Regions from separate parts of the Homo sapiens genome. Here region 1 is linked to region 2. Evidence: promoter capture Hi-C in 16 types of primary human blood cells and fetal thymus (Javierre and others, 2016). All regions are on one chromosome and are shown on one strand. Each heading gives the region's core, a stretch centred on a gene start or on the middle of the fragment in contact. The rest is flanking DNA. Distances are from core to core; before and after follow the strand shown.

Region 1 (6,304 bases), core at 1,411-3,910, 320 kb after region 2:
GACAAAGGAAATGAGAAGGTGTCAGTTAAATCATTATTTATCATAAAATGAAGGCAATTTGAACTCAATGTCTAAATTATCAATAGATAGCAATGGAAAGTAACTTCTCAATCTTTTAGTCTAGACTATTTAACCAAAGGTATGTGTTCCTTTAATAATTTTTCTTTAGTTTATTGAAAGAAATGTTTACAACATGACACCAACAGAAGGGATCAAAGTGTGTCGTGAAATTGCGAGTCTTCATTCCTTTTTCTTGGTTCTTTGTATTCAAAGATGCTATTTAGTGTGTTCTGTTCTTCATCTTCTCTCTTGTTCGTTTTCCAGGTCTCTTCTACAGAAAAAGACATACCACATCTGGTCACATAGCAGCTTGCCTTCTGCCCCAGGGTGAGGACGAACAGAACTGAAGGGAGAGGGCAGGGTTGGGAGTGGGAGGGGAGGCTGAGCCTGCTCCTCACCCGGGCACCTGGGCTCACTTACATTTGACCCTTTCTTGCCAGGCCTCTTGAGGCCTCTGCCATGAGCTGTCTTGGCCCGGAAGCTAGATACATCATCATAGCTCTCCCGAGTGTTCCACTTTGAGCCTTTCTTCTTTCCACCAAAACCAAACTTCTGGTTTTTATACCGTCGTTTAGCACTGGGCCTGGAAAAGAATGGTCCTAGACATCACTACAGCACTGTAAAGCCTGATGAACCTGATGGCCCAGCAATGCTCTCAGTTTCCTTTCTATAAGCAAAGCCCCTTAGGCACGTCTGTAACCCAGAATCTCATCCTTGGCCCCACAATCCTATGCTACAGCCTCTCTAGACAAACTCATCTAGCTCACCTATTTACAGTTTTGACCACCAGGGCAGGAAAATAAAGCAAGAAGCAGGGAAGGCTCTACATATATTACATGGCTTCCTGCTGTCTTTAGAAAGCTTTCTATTTTAACCAAATCTTATTAAATCACCCTCAGTTGTGTCTATTCCTCTCAAGGGTAAATACATGCAGTTAACATCCAAATGTAATATGTTACATTTGTAACATTCAAATGTAATGTAATGAATACGTTCAAATGTAAACATTCAAATGTAATTATAGGCATTCAAATAACATTCAAATGGAATAACATTCAAATGTAAAACTGGTCATCCAATAGGAATCTTGAATTCAGCATCTCCAAATTCACATCATCTCCTGGACTGGCTCTGCTTCCTGTACATATGCCCTCACTTGAGGCTGGCGCTGCTCCCACCAACCCAGACACACAGGCTAAACATGTGGGAGTCAGCCTTGGTTCTTCTCTCACTCTTTATACCCAATTCAATTACTGAGTCCTGCTCATTTCACCTCTTAAATGTTTCTTCAATCCTTATCTCGACTTTTGCAATAGTACCCTTGTCAATTTCCCAGCTTCCCTCAAGTCTGTCACTTATACAAAATCCACTGTGATCTTTTTAAAAACATGAATATAACCTGCTCATTACTGTTAGTACAACCTACAACCTAGTCTCTCCACTGCCTTCTGACAAAGCCCAAGCTCCTCAACAAGGCAAACCCACAGCCCAGGTCCCCCCAAACACATTGCACCCCTCCTTGCTTTGCACTGTATTCCCAGTGACACCAAGGGCTTACTGTTCCTCACAAAACCCTGAGGTTTCACATCTCGATGGCTTTGCTCGTTCAAGCTCTTACTTCTTCCCAAACCCAGCTTCTCTTCTATTCTCGTGGTTAATTCCTACTCATGCTTCAAGCAATGCTCAAGTCGAACGCTCCTCCAGAAATCCACCCCAGACCCTGTCAGGTATTTATAAAAGCTGACTCAGTACTAATCCCCAAATGCCTCTATCATAGCACTTACTATCTTACATGGAAATTATCATTTCCCCTAGGCCTGGTATCCAGGTATGCAAAAAAGCAGACTAGAAAAAACAATGAGAGCCCACATTCTCTCTTTCAGTCTTCATACTATGAGGCAGACACTATTTCCTCAACTTAGCAGATGAGGCAATTAGCATTTAGAAAGGCATGGTAACTCGTTCAAAACTGCCCTCCTACTGAGTGGTAGAGTCGGGATCTGAACCCTAGGTCTGAACTCTCAACCATCGCACTGTGTGATGGGGAATCAACTTTACTCAGCATTCACTTAAAGGGTGCCACATACTTAAAAGTACCTTCTTAGGATGGGTGCAGTGGTTCACACCTATAATCCCAGCACTTTGGGAGGCTGAGGTGAGTGAATCACTTGAGGCCAGGAGTTCACAACCAGCCTGGCCAACATGGTGAAACCCTGTCTCTACTACAAATACAAAAATTAGCTGGGTGTGATGGCAGGCACCTGTAGTTCCAGCTACTCAGGAGGCTGAGGCACAGAATTACTTGAGCCCAGGTGGCAGAGGTTGCAGTGAGCCAAGACTGTACCAGTGCACTGTAGCCTGAGTGACAGAATGAGACTGTCCAAAAAAAAAAGAAGTTTAAAAAGTGCCTTCTTTTACTCTTCAAAGACTGACATGGCTAAAAGGGCCCATCACACAGTCATAGGGGTCCTGGCCCCAGGCAGCAGCTGCACTCTCTGGACTCTATGGCTGCGCCGGTGGAGGTGCTATGTCTGCCATACTCGTGACCTGTGGCCCCATCGCACCTCACAGAACCAAAGAAACCATGCCAAAACCCTTCTCACCCCTTCCTCATCTGCTGGCCTTTGGCTCCTGCCTTCTTGCGCTGTGCCAGAGGTTTCTGATCTCCCTCAAGGAAATCCAGTTTATCAGAGAAGCCTGTAAGTGAAGAAGTAGTTTTGATCAGCACCATTGTATTTTAAGAATAAAAGTTTAAACCACCATATGAGGCTGTTATTTGCTACACTGATTTTAAGAGTCACATCCTGCTCTCCAACACCATTCCCAAAACTTTGATCCGACAGGTCCACATCAACCAAGAAGGCTCCAAAGCACTAAGTGTTCAAATCAACTCTAAAGTACCTGCTACCCTCGTTCCCCTATTAGAGATGTACCAACCTTTCTGATATTTCTTAATAGCATTCATCATATGGGCTTTCTCCTGCTGCCTCTTCTGAAGAACCTCCGTTTGCACCTGTGATATGAACACAAGGACCGTTACAGCCATTCCATACCATTACTCCAGTGTCTACATTGTCTTAATAGCAACACCATGATTAATACCACTACCCTCTGACATTTACTACGTGCCAAAAACTGTGTTAGGGACTCTAAGTATATTCTCAGATCTAGGTATATTCTTCATAGATGAAGATATATCTGTCTCATAACAATCCAGTGAAGTTGAAATTTGTGTTATCCCCTAAACTGAAGCACAGGGAAGTTAACTTGCCCAAGTCGCACAGTGAAAAAATGCACAGCCAAGATGACCCAGGCTGTTTGACTCCAAAGCCAGCACTCACCCTATTATACAATCCTGCCTACAAAACTGAAGTAAATCATGTTTAAGACTACATCGATTTTTCGCATCACATTTGGACAGATTAATTATCTAACTCACTGTTACTAGGCATGAAAGTACCAAAAGGAAGAGAAAAAAACAATGTCCCCAGGTAAAGAAAAGAAAAAAGTTTGAAGGATAAAAGGAGACACTTTATAATACTCTAACAGAGGGTTTCTCAATCTTGATACTGCTACAGTGTGGAGAGAATAATTCTTTGCTGGGGGGTAGGGGCCTGTCCTACACTGTAGGATATTTAGCGGCACCCCTGCCCTCTACCTACTAGATGCCAGTAGTACCCTCCCTCCCAAATTTGACAACTAAAAATATCTCCAGGCAGTCACAGAAAACTCTTGGGGAGCAAATTCACCCCCAGTTAACAAACTCTTCCCCAGTGTTTCCTTAAATTAGGAACAGTGAACTAATAGGCCCAAGTGAGTTTGTCTTTGCTTTTGGTAACTTTGGCTATGTTAAATTAATTACTGGTGTCTTTGAGAGAATCTCAGCCATCCACCTCCAGATCAAAGAAATAATAAATCCGCAGCAGGCCTTTTGTAGAGGACAGGATCCCAGCCTATTCCTACTTTGCTGAGAATGTATCAGTGAAATGACTCCAAACGTGGACAAGAGTTCTGCAGCCCAGATCACAAGTGCTTATGTCCAAATGTTGACGAAGTCTTAACACCCACACCAATCTTCCTCACATTCATTTCTTCCCACAATCCTAACTTTAAAATCTGTCATCTTCTTTCTTAGATGACCATGAAATAAAAAAGGAAAACCAAGAAAAGTTTTAGGGTATGCCTGATCTGGTGTTACATTAGAACTCAGACATTCATAGTTCAAACACGCAGGCAATCTTTCAGATTGGATGACAATCATTATGATAATTTCTTCAGGTACGTGATTATCACATAGATCAGTGAATCCCAAACCAGGATGCATTTCAGAATCACCTGGAAAGCTTTTGGGGAAGAGGGGAAAACAGGCACAGATTCCTGGGGATTCTGAAGTCTAGAATTCTGTTTTGAAAAATTTCCCCTGGTGATTTTGCTATAAGGTCAGGTTTGGAAACCACTCATCTGGACCCAGTGTACAGATGTGAAAACTAACGCCCAGAGAGGTGATTGGCTCACCTGCAGTCACCATACTACTCCTGGGGAACCACTCATGTCCAGGCAAGATTGTGCTCATGAATACCAGCACATACACTGAGAGACGGTAAATACATGATCAACACACAGTTCCGTTCAGTTCAGGGGACCAAGTCAGACCACGGCAATCTCATCTAACACACACTCCGCCTCTTCCTGTTCCCTGCACACTTTTCTTCTCACCTTCTTCCCGTATTTCCTAAGTGCTCGCAGTTGCTTAGCTTTTTCAGACCTCTCCATGGCAGCCTGTTTAGTCTGCAGCTTCTGTCGAATCTACAACACAAAATGCTGTCAGTTCATGTCATTTGAATCTGGAATGACCACTACTTAGGATTCGCTAGAGCAGGGAACAGATATTCCCTGTTCTTTAAACTGCGGAACTTATAAATCATCAGTTCCAACCCCTGAGGACAATGGGGCCCACAGGCTGAGCACTTTACCAAAAGTGCCAGAGTGAAGCCAGAGATTGAAAGTCACCTTCCCGCTCCCAGTGTGCTGTCTGTTTCATTATACAAACTGCCTATTTGTAGCCCAGGAAAGAAGACAAACTTCTCCCCATTTCTACTGTCAGTAGACTGAGGCTGGAAACCAGTATGCGGCCTCAGTGTCCTTTTCTAGTATACCACATACACAATAAAAACCCAGGCAGATACCAGGTGCCTAGCCTTTTCAGTCAAACATACACATTTTAGTTAAAGGATGAGAAGTTGTCAGTGAGAATTTGTACAGAGTTCACAGTAAGAAGGTGAACTACTACCACGACAAAAGCTCCCTAAAATCCAGCTTGAGACCCCAGGGTACTATTTAAATATACTTATCCCTCAGTATCCATAGAGGATTAGTTCTAGGACCCACTACAGATATCAAAATCCACAGATGCTCAAGTCCTTTATATAAAAATGGTGCAGCATTTGCATATAACCTACACTCGCCTCCAGTATCCTTTAAAGTCAGAGGACCTCAACTCCCAGGCCACAGACCGCTACGAACCCACTATGAATCTGTGGCCTGTTAGGAACCAGGCCGCACAGCAGAAAGTGAGTGACAGGCAAGCAAGCATTACCACCTGAGCTCCACCTCCTGTCAGATTGGTGGTGGCGTTAAATTCTCATAGGAGTGCGAACTCTACTGTGAACTATGCATGGAACTATGCATGCAAAGGATCTAGGTTGCCTGCTCCTTATGAGAATCTAATGCCTGATGATCTGAGATGGAACGGTTTCATCCCAAAACTATCCCCTCCCCAAGTTCATGAAAAAATTGTCATCCACGAAACTAGTCTCTAGTGCCAGACCGCTTCTTTAAATAGTCTCTAGATTACTTATAATACCGAATACAATGCTATGCATCACCTCATTCTCATGGATTCAATGTAGTTCTCGGCACACGGAAAATTCAGTTTTCCTTTTGCAATATTTTCAAATTTTTTTCCCCAATATTTTTGATCCAAGGTTGGTTGAATCCACAGATGCTGAACCCATGGCTATGGAGGGCTGAATGTATGTTGGATTACATGCTGGCAATCCCTTCTTCCAAAGTTAAATGAGGTCCAAGTTCTACCCAACTCTAAATTGTACTATATCTGAACCATCTAAGAATCCCTCATTTTACAGAGGAGAAAACTGAGGCCCAGAGAAAAGTAATTGTCTACAAGTTCTAGCACTGACAGTGGCAAGGGCACAAGAATGCTGTCCTCTCTGCACACCATGTC
Region 2 (6,252 bases), core at 2,872-5,371:
CTCACCTGTCTGTGTCTCTTTGCAGTGGCAGTGACCCTGGACCCAGACACAGCACATCCCAAACTCATCCTTTCTGAGGACCAAAGATGTGTAAGGCTTGGAGACAGACGGCAGCCTGTACCTGACAACCCCCAGAGATTTGATTTCGTTGTCAGCATCCTAGGCTCTGAGTACTTCACGACTGGCTGCCACTACTGGGAGGTGTATGTGGGAGACAAGACCAAATGGATTCTTGGAGTATGTAGTGAGTCAGTGAGCAGGAAGGGGAAGGTTACTGCCTCACCTGCCAATGGACACTGGCTTCTGCGACAGAGTCGTGGGAATGAGTATGAAGCTCTCACATCCCCGCAGACCTCCTTCCGCCTTAAAGAGCCTCCACGGTGTGTGGGGATTTTCCTGGACTATGAAGCAGGAGTCATCTCTTTCTACAATGTGACCAACAAGTCCCACATCTTTACTTTCACCCACAATTTCTCTGGCCCCCTTCGCCCTTTCTTTGAACCTTGCCTTCATGATGGAGGAAAAAACACAGCACCTCTAGTCATTTGTTCAGAACTACACAAATCAGAGGAATCAATTGTCCCCAGGCCAGAAGGGAAAGGCCATGCTAATGGAGATGTGTCCCTCAAGGTGAACTCTTCTTTACTACCCCCGAAGGCCCCAGAGCTGAAGGATATAATCCTGTCCTTGCCCCCTGACCTTGGCCCAGCCCTTCAGGAGCTCAAGGCTCCTTCTTTTTAGGGATATGCCACATTACCTGCTCCCATCACCATCCAGCCCAGCACCCTGGACTTCAGTCGCCTGGCCCAACCCCATGATTATGGAACGTCTCTTCACCTTAACCCAAATCCAGACCCTTTTGTGGTTTCTATTTGTACCACTTTTCTCCCAGGCCTCAGTTCTGAAGCTTACCTTTCTTCTAAGGAATTGAAGCTCCCAGTGACCTGGAGGGAGGATTCCTGGAAACCAAACAATCAGTTTAGGTGCAGGTGGAGATGTTGAATATGTGTTACCAAGATACAGCACAGGTTCAGGGAAAAGAGTTCGCTACTCCAGGGGTTATTTAGAAGACACTTTCTCTGCCTCATCCTGCCCTCAAGCTTTAGTCAAGAAGTTATGGCCCCCAGTCCCTGACTTCTTACTTATCCCATTGAGGACTGCCTTTCTCTCTCTCAGTTCTGGCCTCTGCCCCCCAAAGTCAGCTCTCTAAAAGCAAGCATGTTTTAGACCACTCACTCTTTCCCTCTTTCTTCAGGAATGAATTGGGAAAGGCTGATGAGTAAAACATACCATCCTTTTCTATTTTCTTGATGCTGTTTACAACATAGTTTGGTGATATCCAGAGCTAATGTACATGCTTTCAAAAGCTAATCTGCCTGTTGATGGTAACTAGGTACAGCGACTTTAAATACAGTTGCTATAATCCTGAAAAGCCCCAGGAGCACATCAGGGAGCTGGGAAACACAGTTGCAGAGAACTCAGCTGTATGTTGCCCTCTGACCTTGGCCCAGACCTTCAGAGGCTCAGTCTGTTGAGTCTGTTGTGACTGTCTTATGAATCAATCTGTTGTGCCAACCCTTTCTGAGATTCAGAGAGGTCCAGCTAGAAAAAGTGGCAGTTTTAACCACCAACGTAGAAGCTTTTTTTTCCCCACAAGACCATTGTACTGCAATACTTGAGTATTTGTGTAGCAAACAGCCTCTTAGGTTGGAGAGTATTGATTTCAAATAGGAAGTTGGTAGACTAGGTGTGAGGATGAAATAATGACCTTGATTTTTGGGTGTGTATTGCAGAAGCCTCGTCGCTTTCAAGTCACATCATATATGCGATCTGGCCTAACCATGGAGATATTGGTTATCAGTTTGCAGATGAATACACAGTTCTATCCAACAGAAACTGTATCTTTCTGTTTGTCAGAAGTTCTCCGTTAGTTCCTGTATTAGTCAAGGTTTTCCAGAGAAACAGAATCAATATATATTGGGGCAGGGGGGCGGTGGTTATTATAAGGAATTGGCTCACGTGATTATGGAGGCGGTTAAATCCCAAGATCTGCAGGATAAGTCAGCAAGATGGAGTCCCATGAGAGCTGATGGTTTAGTTCCAGTCTGATGGCAGCAGGCTTGACGCCAAGGAAGAGATGATGTTTAATTCAAGTCCGAAGGCAAGGAAAAAGCTGATGGTCCTGTCCAAAGGCTATTAGGCAGGAAGAATTCTCTTAGGGCAGAGTTAGCTCTTTTGTTCTATTCAGGCCTTCAACTGATTCAGCAAGGCCCGCCCACATTTGGGAGGACAGTCTGCATTACTCAGTCTACTGATTTGAATGTTAATGTCATTGAGAAACACCCTCACAGGAACACTCAGAATAATGTTTGACCAAATAGCTGGGCATCTTGTGACCCAGTTAAGTGGATACATAAGATTAACTATCACAGTGACTCAGTGGAATTTTTTGTTTGCTTTTGTACAGTTTTAAAATAAAAGTTTGGTATTTGTGTTTTGGTATGCTGTTATTTTCATTGTGAATGAGGAGTTGTGGGGAAGGTAAGAGATTGGTTTCCAAAGAGCTTTGAGTCCCCCAAGGCAAGGTTTAGCCACCGTTCATACTAAAGCCATAGTTTTATTCCTGAGTCTGCTCTCTAGTATTTTATTTTATCAATTTATAAACAAATAGTGTTCATAAGGCACACATATTTCACTCAACCATATTCAGTTCCAAACATGCATTCCTGAATATCCCAATCTTAAAACTAACTCACATTGTCAGCTTGTGGAGGCAGAATACATGCATACATATACACATACATACATGAATATACATATAATATACACACACATATGCATACATACACATATACACATGTATACATGTATGTGTATATACATATCTGTACTACATAGGTGTATATATATGTATATGTATTTAGCATGTATGCACGTGTATATGTATACACATATATACATATGTATGTATAATACATATTCACACATGTATGCATGTATATACACATGTATACATTAGTATATGTATATACACATGTATGTGTATTATACATGTATATATGTACATACATATCAGTCTACTGATTTGAATATTAATGTCATCAAGAAATAACCTCAATATATGTATGTATTATAACCTTACAACTATATAAAACATACATACATATATATGTATATATGTATACACATACACATGCATGAGAATATATGTATGTATATATAATATCCTCACAGTAATTCTGCCAGGGATTTTATGGGGGAGGGAGTTGGTACTCCAAATGGCTAGGTGGTAGAGCCAGAGTTTTATACTTGGTTTATCTAGCTCTGAAGGCAATGCTCCTTGTTCTTTGCACTGAAACATTGTGCAGATACGAGAAGCCTGTAGTTTACGTATTTCATTAGCCTTTTATTATTTTAAAAAATAAAACCTGAAAAAAAAGACCTAGTCCTGGATACTTTGGTGATCTTGTTGTGTCTGGATTGACGAACACGTGTCAGGCTTAATTAGGGATGCACGCGGAACCCGGGAAAATCCCTGCTCAGGGGGGCTGGAAGACCTGGAGGTTGATCCTTGAACAGGGTACTTTTAGCTTCTCCGATAAGGAGATTGGGTTATTTTATCTTTAAACTCCCTTCCAGCTCTACCCTCCTTTGATTTTAAGTTATAAACCTTGAGTGAGGTGCCAGACTCTAGGCTTCGTTGGACGTCTACAGGACGGTCAAGGATTACCAACTCAAAGTAAAGAAGGAAATTTGAGTACTTGCCCCCTTGGAGGTTGTGTAGGTTGGCTATACAGATTCTACAACTTCCCAGACGAGTGGCCCTGAGACTTGGGGCTGAACGCGCGAGCACGGAAAGAAATCCCACCGTAGGACGGAACCCAGTCTCTTCAGCTCCATCCTAAACTTCGCAAGTTTTCTCTGAGTCTACGCGCTTCCTTAGGACTACAACTCCCAGCATGCCACGCCAGCGGTCAAAGCTTATTGGTGGTCCTGCCAGGTCGCTTGCGTTGTGGCAGTCATGGTAGCCAATGGAAATAAAGAATTATCCCAAGAAACCAATCCTGGAGTAGTAGGGCGGATCCTTCCTGGGTTCCGGCTCCGGCTCCAGCTCCTTCCCTCGCCTACAGAGGCGGCGCTGTCCCTGATCGAGCGGCGGGAGCGAGGTGGGTCCGGGTTGGGCCCGAGGTCGCGGGGGGAGGCGGACACGACTTCGCGGGAAACTCTGTACACGGCCACTTCCCTCTCACCGAGGATCTGGATGCTGCTGCTTTGCTCCCTGGACCGAGTGGGAAGCCAAGGGGCCTTGTGGTCCCTCCGCCGCGACCCTCGCCCTGGCCCCCGGCCCACGCAGCCAGGTGGCTGTCCCCAACCCATTCCCCGGCCCTTCTGTTGGGTTTGAGTATACAGCCTTCCTGCCGCTGACCATACGTTTAGGATCAGCCCCTCCTCCTCTCCCACCTCTCTGGCCCCAAGCCCGCCGGCAATCTCTGAAACCAGCTCTTGTACCCTTGGACCTCCGCCATTGGCTTCTCCCCGCCCCGCAACACACAACTCAGCTCTTGGGCCCTGGCCTGTGACACTTCTGGCAGCCTTTGCTTCCTCTTCCCTGACCGTCTCCTGCGACCCTCTGACTTCCTTGGTCCTCCTGTATCTCTGACCCGTTATCTAGCTTCCCTGTACAATTACCCTGTTAGCACCTTGCTCTTGGTCTTTCATAGCTCCTCTCTCCTCTTCCTCCCTGCAGCCCTTGACTTGGCCCCAAAGACCTGTAACTTCGGACCTCCATACCGCACTATGGCTTGGCCCCTTGCCTTTAACCTAGGCGCTTCACCTTCATCATCTGTGATCACTAGCCCCATCTTCTTGGCTCTTAACTTCTTAGACCTGGCCCCTCCTCCACTTCTCAGCCCCTTCCACCGTTGCTTCTCTCTGTGCAGCTGAGCCACCAGGAAGACAAAGCCCAATAGACCCCTTTTCCCCCCAGATCTCTGCAGTGTGATATGAAAGTGCCTCTGTACTTCAGCTGCACTGTCTTCTCAGTAGGTAGTTGCCTCTTTATCTCTGCAAGTCCCAGTCTTACCCATCCTGCAAACCTTAGGTCAAATACCTACTCCTCCTTGAAACTTCTCAGCCCTGATTTCATCAGGGAGATACATCTGTATCATGTGAACTTCAGTGGTACTGTTTTTATTTCCTTCCTTCCCGTCTTCTCTCCTTTTTTCCTTCAGTAATAGTATAATGGTTAAAAGCACTGACTTTGAAGTGATGGGCATAGGCCCCAGTTCTGCCACTTACTTGCTGTGTGCCCTTGGGCAAGATACTTAATTTCTCTGAGCCTCAGCTTTCTCATCTCTAAAATAAGGATGATGTGAAGTGAAATTAGATGATTCATATATGGTCCTTAGTCCACAGCTTAGCACTTGATTCGAGCTTTAAAAAAATGTTAATAATGTGCCAGGTGCTGTGTTAGACACTGAGGAGTGGGTACAAAGGTGACTAAGGCACAGTTCCTGCCCCTGTCCCCTGAACTTAACCTTCTGCATTGTATGACAATTTCTGGAGTTCACGGTCTGTTTCAGTACACTGTATCACAAACTGAGTGGTAATCATAATCCTAAATCCTTTTGCTCTTACATTGACCTAGCATCCAGCCCCGGGTAGAGCTGGAACTTGGTAAATTATAGGTTCTCAGAATAGCAGTTTCGGAAGTGAGTGGAGGCTGAATAGCTCATTGCGTAGAGATACTGTAGCTGTAGGTCAGATGGGAGCAGGGCAGGGGGTGGGGGATGGGATGGTGGCGTGAATTAAGATCACATCCTGTCACTTATACATTCAAAAGACATTTGAGCACCCAGCTTTATGCTGCAGAAGGAGATTACTAATATGACCCAGTCCCTTTCCTCAAGTTGCTTATAAACTACTAATAGAAACAGACATGTTCTACTAGTAGTTGCAAACCACTATAAGCCAAGCACAAGATTCTGTGACTGCATAAAGGAGAAAGTAGGCAGGAATCAGGAGATTGCTGAGGAAAAGTGGGTGAGACAGTTCATGGTTACTTGTGTCCCATGAAGACAGAGCTGGTGTTTTATTCAACTCATTCAACAAATACTTATGAAGGATCTACTGTATATGGCTGCCACTACTCTAGGAGTTTTGGTTACATTGGTAAATTAAAAAAAAAACAAAAAAACAACAAAGACACCAGCTCTCATGGAACTTATGTTTTAGGGAAGCAGACAATAAATA

Evidence for each region. The method cuts DNA at HindIII sites, captures the fragments that hold promoters and counts their contacts. A CHiCAGO score of 5 or more calls a contact.
Region 1: a contact is called between a fragment that was not itself captured here and the fragment with the promoter of ZNF691 in region 2, in 1 of 17 cell types (total CD8 T cells). The highest score is 5.9, in total CD8 T cells.

Annotation. Positions count from the first base shown.
Region 1 is chr1:43,164,163-43,170,466 of GRCh38, forward strand. EBNA1BP2 (EBNA1 binding protein 2) reads right to left here. Exons shown (of 9, transcript NM_006824.3): 5 at 4,777-4,866; 6 at 2,998-3,073; 7 at 2,664-2,757; 8 at 481-643; 9 at 22-331. The coding sequence ends at 281. Among named protein-coding and RNA genes, the nearest start is that of MIR6733, 4.4 kb to the right of the region's middle. The HindIII fragment of the contact is 3,482 bases long and covers 920-4,401 here.
Region 2 is chr1:42,842,492-42,848,743 of GRCh38, forward strand. It overlaps ZNF691 (zinc finger protein 691), which reads left to right and starts at 4,122. Exons shown (of 4, transcript NM_001242739.2): 1 at 4,122-4,166. ZNF691-DT (ZNF691 divergent transcript) reads right to left here and starts at 3,923. Exons shown (of 5, transcript NR_186083.1): 1 at 3,766-3,923; 2 at 2,020-2,193; 3 at 913-959; 4 at 284-425. It overlaps ERMAP (erythroblast membrane associated protein (Scianna blood group)), which reads left to right. Exons shown (of 12, transcript NM_001017922.2): 12 at 26-2,500. The coding sequence ends at 741. RefSeq lists enhancers at 3,659-3,928, 4,089-4,158. The HindIII fragment of the contact is 2,673 bases long and covers 3,979-6,252 here.